Regions from separate parts of the Homo sapiens genome. Here region 2 is linked to region 1. Evidence: promoter capture Hi-C in human tissues and cell types (Jung and others, 2019). All regions are on one chromosome and are shown on one strand. Each heading gives the region's core, a stretch centred on a gene start or on the middle of the fragment in contact. The rest is flanking DNA. Distances are from core to core; before and after follow the strand shown.

Evidence for each region. Contacts are between HindIII fragments. The study calls those that stand out against the background at their distance.
Region 2: the fragment with the promoter of KLHL35 here is called in contact with the fragment with the promoter of OR2AT4 in region 1 in 1 of the 25 tissues and cell types used here (H1 embryonic stem cells).

What each region holds. Positions count from the first base shown.
Region 1 is chr11:75,095,468-75,099,194 of GRCh38, reverse strand. OR2AT4 (olfactory receptor family 2 subfamily AT member 4) reads left to right here and starts at 2,319. Exons shown (of 2, transcript NM_001405852.1): 1 at 2,319-2,367. RefSeq lists a cis regulatory region at 1,945-2,460. The HindIII fragment of the contact is 12,596 bases long and covers 1,527-3,727 here.
Region 2 is chr11:75,431,903-75,435,800 of GRCh38, reverse strand. It overlaps KLHL35 (kelch like family member 35), which reads left to right and starts at 2,598. Exons shown (of 7, transcript NM_001039548.3): 1 at 2,598-2,758. GDPD5 (glycerophosphodiester phosphodiesterase domain containing 5) reads left to right here. Exons shown (of 17, transcript NM_030792.8): 17 at 146-1,161. The coding sequence ends at 294. RefSeq lists an enhancer at 3,074-3,898. The HindIII fragment of the contact is 12,939 bases long and covers 1-3,898 here.

The sequences.
Region 1 (3,727 bases), core at 1,070-3,569:
CTTAAGGCAGCGCATCTGGAGTTGTTCGTTCCTCCTGGTGGGCTTGTGGTCTCGCTGGCTTCAGGAGTGAAGCTGCAGACCTTCGCGGTGAGTGTTACAGCTCATAAAAGCAGTGTGGACCCAAAGAGTGAGCAGTAGCAAGGTTTATTGCAAAGAGCGAAAGATCAAAGCTTCCATAGTGTGGAAGGGGACCTGAGCGGGTTGCCACTGCTGGCTCGCGCAGCCTGCTTTTATTCTCTTACCTGGCTCCACCCACATCCTGCTGATTGGTAGAGCCCAGTGGTCTGTTTTGACAGGGCGCTGATTGGTGCGTTTACAATCCCTGAGCTAGACACAAAGATTCTCCAAGGCCCCACCAGAGCAGCTAGATACAGAGTGTCCATTGGTGCATTCGCAAACCCTGAGCTAGACACAGGGTGCTGATTGGTGTGTTTACAAACCTTGAGTTAGATACAGAGTGCCGATTGGTGTATTTACAATCCCTGAGCTAGACATAAAGGTTCTCCACGTCCCCACCAGACTCAGGAGCCCAGCTGGCTTCACCCAGTGGGTCCCGCACCGGGGCTGCAGGTGGAGCTGCCTGCCAGTCCCGGAGCCATGCGCCCACACTCCTCGGCCCTTGGGTGGTCGATGGGACTGGGTGCTGTGGAGCACGGGGCAGCACTCATCGGGGAGGCGGGGGCCGCACAGGAGCCCAGGGAGGGGGTGGGAGACTCAGGCATGGCGGGCTGCAGGTCCCGAGCCCTGCCCCGCGGGAAGGCAGCTAAGGCCCAGAGAGAAATCGAGCACAGCGCCAGTGGGCTGGCACTGCTGGGGGACCCAGTACACCCTCCACAGCCGCTGGCCCGGGTGCTAAGCCTCTTATTGCCTGGGGACAGCAGGGCCGGCCGGCTGCTCTGAGTGTGGGGTCCGCCAAGCCCACGCCCACCCAGAACTCCAGCTGGCCTGCAAGCGCAGGCGCAGCCCTGGTTCCCACTCGCGCCTCTCTCTCCACACCTCCCTGCAAGCTGAGGGAGCCGGCTCCGGCCTTGGCCAGCCCAGAAAGGGGCTCCCACAGTGCAGCGGTGGGCTGAAGGGCTCCTCAAGTGCCGCCAAAGTGGGAGCCCAGGCAGAGGAGGCACCGAGAGCGAGCGAGGGCTGTGAGGACTGCCAGCACGCTGTCACCTCTCACTGAGACTACAGGTGCATGCCACCATGCCCAGCTAATTTTTTTGTATTTTTCAGTAGAGATAGAGTTTTGCCAGTTGTCCAAGCTGCTCTCTTACTCCTGGACTCAAGAGATCCTCCCCCTTCGGCCCGGCAAAGTGCTGGGATTACAGGCGTGAGCCACCACACCCGGCCTAGAACTTTCACTTTTGACTCAGTAAAGCTCTGTATTGATTAAAATGTTCTACAATGAGGTTCTGTTTATTACTTGTGAAATTAAAAAAAAATTAAAATTTTATGAGTATTAGTAGGAGTGACCAAGTCAGTCAAGTCAGAAACAGAACACTGGAGCCAAAGGAGAGAATCAGAAAGATTGAGGCAGGAAGAGTCTGTGACTCTTGACTTTGTCCTGTATGGGGTTGGGGCAGAGACTTCCACCCTCACATTCTTTCCACAAAACCTTTGCAAGTTCTCATTGCACAGCAGCGGAAGTATCACATACTCATTGAACAAGGCTTTACTGCTTTGGTCCATTAAAATAATAGCTCCCACTTATTGAATGCCTAATAAGTGGCAGGAACTGGGTGAAGCACCTCAACCTGCCCAGTTATCCTGTGAGAGAGTTAGTGTCGTTATACCCATTCCACAGATGACAAAATGAAGACCCAGTGAGGTTAAGGGATTTGTTCAAAGTCATATTACTGGGAATAACTCGGGTCTTAGTCATTAGATAACATGTTGCTGAACCACTGAACCAGAATTGGAGCCTTGGGTACAAATCCCAGCTCTGCCACCAGCCACTCATATGACCTTGGGCAAGTCACCTCACTTCTCTAGATCTCAGTTTCCTCAAATGTAAAATAGTGGAAATAATCCTGACTCTGCCTGTCTTCCCTGGCTATTGTGAGGACCAGATGGGAAAACAGGAATAATACTGGTGATAAAGTTCTGGGACCCATGAGGGTTGTTAATGATGTTGTTTTCATTATCAGCAAAGCCCAGAACAAAGTCCCCCACTCCACCCTCGGAAGTTGTTCTCAGCTGACTGGCAGTTATCTGGTCCCACGGGTGAGCCTTCTTGTGGGGAGAGAGCCCCAGCAGGCCTGGTTGCAGAGAGGGGCCCGAGGGTTTAAAGGGCCATGGTTGAGTTTCTACCTGGCTCTTCCCAACCAAGGCCAACTGTGACGACTCTACACAAGACATCAAGGCGGACCAGGATTGGTAGGTGAGCTGGGCTGGGGATGGAGTGCGCAGAGCAGGCAGAGACTGGGATGGGGAGATAGGCTCAGGGAGGTTGGGGGCATGTACAACCACAGTAAAGATCCTGGGAATGTCAGGGTCCCAGGATCCAAGTCAACCACGCAGTCAGCCTGGGTGAGTGTAGACCAGACACCCTCGCAGGCAGGGGCAGGGCTGTGCAGTCACAAGCAAGAGGCTAATGATCTTGGAAGAGAATTCCTCACAAGGAGGCAAAGCTGATGACGATAAGAGAAATGGGAATAATTTGTGAGGGAATTGCAGTCCATTGGAGGAAAGCACAAAGTGGTGGAGCCAGGAAGGAAACTCAGGCCTTTCTAACTGCAAAGTTAATAGACCTAGATTCTGTGCTTCACGTATATCCTGCTCCTTTTCTATGGAAACAGTGCAGGATGGTGAGAATATCATGAGAGAACTGCATGAGTTTGGGCGTCGTAATGATGTGTAATGACTGTAAAGAATCAAGCAGGCAACAGAAGCTTAACAAATGAGAGCGCCCTTGCTCTCCTTCCTAAGAGGCTGAGGCCATGACACATCTGTCTTCGAATCTCTCATTTATCTAAACACAGAGTAGATACTCAAAATATTTATCAAGCTGGAGATCATTGCTTCCAAAGTCCTCATTTTATAGATGGGAAAACTGAGGCTCAGAGACCCAGCATCACAGCAAGAGAGTGGCAGAGCTGGTCCAGGAGAGCTCAAGGTGAGTTGATAATCTAGCTCTGTTGACAGTCTAGTTCTAGTTCTATCACCCACTTACTGTGTGACCTTGGGAAAGTCACAGCCCATTTCTGGGACTCCCTTTTCTGTCCCCATCTATATAATAAAGAGGTTAGGTGAAATGCCAGCACTTTGGGAGGCCGAGGCGGGCAGATCACTTGAGATCAGGACTTCAAGACCAGCCTGGCCAACATGGTGAAACACCATCTCTACTAAAAATACAAAAATTAGCCGGACATGGTGGCAAGCGCCTGTAATCCCAGCTACTCGGGAGGTTGAGGCATGAGAATCGCTTGAACCCGGGAGGCAGAGGTTGCAGTGAGCCGAGATCGTGCCACTGCACTCCAGCCTGGGTGATAGAGCAAGACTCAATCTCAAAAAAAAAAAAAAAAAAGAGGTTAGGTGAAAACTATTTAATCACTAATGGCCCCTTCATTCCTATTTGATGATTTATCAGCAAAACAAGGCAAGTTGGAAAGCTGCATTCCAGAGCACTAAGCTCCTGGGAAGGATGGTGCAGTATCAAATAGAAACGATCAGACCCCATTACTGCTCTGAAAGTGCTCCTGGTGTGGTGGACACATAAATAGACAGAGACAACCTG
Region 2 (3,898 bases), core at 1,349-3,848, 340 kb before region 1:
CCAGGCTCAATGTCGACCTGAGCCCAGTGGTTTCATCAGCCTCCAAGTGCCCCGCTGGGTGGTGCAGCCTTCCTGCCCCATCTGTCACCCATCCTCACGACTGCCTCCTCCCCGACTCACATTCTGTCTCCCTCTGGCCCAGCAGAGATCAGCGATGGTGTAGAGGTCTCCGATGTGCTCTCCGTATGTTCAGACAACAGTTATGACACATATGCCAACAGCACCGCCACCCCTGTGGGCCCCCGAGGGGGTGGCAGCCACACCAAGACCCTCATAGAGCGGAGTGGGCGTTAGCTGAAGACATGTCTGTCCCACCTGTACCTGACACAGAAGCTGGGGAGCCTAGGAGAGCTGGTGGAAGTGTGTCTGAACTCGGAGTGCTCTGGGAGCGGGCTCCACAGCCTCCTTGTGGGCTCCAGCCCCTTGTCAGCCGCAGCCTCTCTTGAGGGGGACTCCCTGTCTCCTGAGGCCCAGCTGGGCCAGGACTCCATCCTTTCAGATGCCCCTGCAGGCCTGGGGCTCCTTCTGGGAAGTATGGGGCCTAGGGCTTGGTCCCCCTCTTCTGAGGCCCTCTCCTGTATCCCGACCTGGAAGCTTTGATGGGTCATGGGCCATGCCATACCCCCTGTGGCAATGGAGTGTGTGGATGCTCACCTGTGCCATCTGTCCTCCTGTCTGTGCCAGGAGGCACCTGAGTTCTCTGCTGTTATCCTGCCCCAAGGGCCTGGGCCGAGCCTCTACCTGAAGCAACTCTGCTCTTCCTGTCAGTCTCAAAGCACAAGGAGGTTCAGCCCAGGAGGAAGCCAGCTGCAATGTGGAGACACGTCCTCCTCCCCAACCCACCTCATGCCACCGCCAACCCCCTGCCCCAGGAGCGGGCCTGAGCCACGTCCTCTAGGAGCAGCTGGAGATGGCCAAAAGAGTGAGCTCAGGACTACTGGATCCCATGCCCAGGTGTCCAGCAGACCTCAAGGCAGAAGGGTCACCTAACCCAGGAGTCCACAGACTGATGTGACCTCAGGTTCCCACATCAGTGGCCACAGGGCAGGGCCCACCTGGTAGAAGTGTTCTGGATATGGCCAGGGTGGGTGTGTGGCTAAGTGGGCCTGAACAGAGGGAACCTAGGGCCCTTGGCCAATGTGATTAAAGCTGCCATCTTGATGTGTGTTGTCTCTGAATTGCCAGCAGGAGGGTGGGGACAAGTGCGCTGGGTCTAGGTTTCAGTTCTGACCCTATAATCTGAGGAGGAACCATTCTCAGGAATGAATGGGAAAGTGGCAGAATGGTGCCTCCCCTTCCCTGGGTCCGCCATGGTGCCAGTGGCTGGGAGCCGGTATCCTCATATGGTGGATGGGGAGACAGTCTTGGAGAGGTAAAGTGACCTCCAAAAGCCACACAGCTTAGAACAGGCCAAGCCAGAATCCCATCCAGACTCTGGCCCCAGCGCATATGTGTGCCTCCCATAAGCTAGGAATGACACGCAGAGGGGGAGGGCTCCTGGGTCCAATGTAGGGCTGGGAGTGGGACTGGCAGGTGCCCTCACAGCCACATGAAGGCATTCTGAACCTCCCGGCTATGTTGGGACAAGCCCTCAGCACAGGGAGGCCTCTTCCCCATGCCAGGAGTTTGGCTTTGACTTCTCCGAGCTTTGGACCTGCCTGAGGAGGGCCCATGCCCATGCCCAGGACTGGGGGCACCTGAGCTGAAAGCCAAAGTACAGCCCTGGGACCACAGGTGTCCTTTCCTTCCAGTCCTTGGGACCTCTGCTGTCTGTGGGCAGGAGTCAGTGGTGGTGTCAGAGCAGGCCTGTAACTCCCCTCTTTGTCCTGAGAGTCTGCCTGGTCATGGGTGTGACCTGAGGGAAAAGGGGGAAGCTGAGCCCCAGCTCCAGCCTGCATCAAATTAACTCCATGCTTCCTGGGAGCCAAGGGACGTGTCTCTTCCAAACAGGGATCTTCTGGATAGAATTCTTGGGGTCTAGGAGATTCTGGCACCTTATAGGTAAAAAAGAAAAGAGCCCTCTGCAAATGTTGGAAGCTCCACTGGGCCCCCACAGTAACCTCGAGGACCGGCCCTCCTGCCCCTGCTACTGAATGTCTGGCAAGTGCTCTGCTTCCTGGGGCAGAGGTCAGCTCCCGCCTCTCCCTGAGCTCAAGGGAATGAGACTCAGAGCCACTGTGCCCCCCGCCCCACATGCTTAGTCACATTGGCATCTACATGGTCACACAGCCACATGTCCACACGCAGCCCAATGCTACACAGTCACTTCATTCCATGTACTTCCACAATCACGCATAGTCACCCTGAAACCTACATGCCTACAACTGCATGATGACACCCCTCCCACACCCCAACTCCAGCACCACACACCTTCGAACCCATCGTCATTCCGGGACAAGGCCAGCACCAGGTCACCCCCAAACCCAGGCATACCAAATCCTGGAGTTCCACACACAGTCAATCCCACTCTTATGCCCCCCCTTTCTTTCCCTCCCTCCCAGGGCTAGTCCAAGAGTGGAACAAAAGCCCAGCATCCCCCTCCCTGCTCGCTTCTCCCTTCCCCTCCCTTCCCCTCCCTCCTGGCGTCCAGCCCCTTTGTCCTCCCGCAGCTGAGCCCGAGCGAACAGCAAACGGGAGTCTGGGCAGAGCAGCATGAACACTGGAGCTTGGGCTGCCAGGGGTGCGGGCGGCAGGCACAAACGGGAGTGATACCTGTGAGAGCAGCAGCTGCGGAGCACTTGGGAGAGGGTATGGCCAGGTAAGTGCCAGGTGCATGGGGCAAGGCTTAGGCTGCAGGGCTGACCCGGCTGCGTGGTGTCCGCAAGTCTGAGATGGGGAGGATGCGGAGGAGGTGCTTGGGTAATGGCTTCAAGTGGATGTGGGTGTGTAAAAGAGTGATGGTGGCATGTTCGAGTCAGCTTCTATAGGCTGGGCCCTTCAATCTGCATCATGACCCCTGGCTTGAAGTGCCTAGACTCAGCCGAGAAGGGAGGATACCCATTGAGCCCTACCTGGGAATTTTTACCTTCTGTGTTCCAACTGGGTGTCGTTTGACCCCCAGACTGGGGATCCCCAGAGTGAATGCTGGATCTGATGTCACTGTGTGTCCAGAGTGCCCAGCGCAGTAGACAGTAAAATGAAAAAGTACTGACACACTTCCTAGGAGGGGACTCTTTCTCCCCCAGGGAGCTGCTTGTGCTGTGGGGCACCTTTGCAAGAAGTCCATCCTTATGCTGATGAGACCTGCCCTCTTGAGTCTCAACTCAGAGCATGGTTGTGCTTTCTGAGCCAGTGGAGGACAGACTGGTTGCAGCGTGCTGTGATGACCGGTCTCACTTCCTTCCACCGGTCCTGGCTGCTCCTTGGGACACACCCCCACCCTGGCAAGTGTGGCATGCAAACCCTGGAGCCAGGTGGATTCAGGATCCAGTCGCTCTACTTGGGCAAAAGTAGTTAACTTTCTTGCCCACCAGGGAGCTCATCTCTCATGATGCTGACCAGGGGATCCGCTGCCCTGGATGACCAGGGCATGAAAGCCAGGCTGACACTAGGCGGGATCTGACCTCCAGAGGCAGCAGAGCAGCTGGGAGCAGGAGGATGGAAGGAGAGGCAGGGCGCAGAGGGTGGACCTGAGCCCCCTAGAGTAAGCTGATGGAAAGGAGGGAGCTCCCTGTCCCTGGAGGTGTGCAAGCAGAGGTTTTGTGTTCATAATGGCCAAATCATAACCAGCATGGCCCAGCCCCTCAGTCTGCAGAGCGCCTTCACAAACACCCCTCTGCTGAGCCTCGCCGCAAACTTCTGAAGGGCGGGTGTCCTGTGTGTGCTTGTTTCCCTTATGACAAACTAAAGGGGCAGGTGTGGGCTAAAGAAACTTCTCAGCTTGTGAGGATGAAATTAA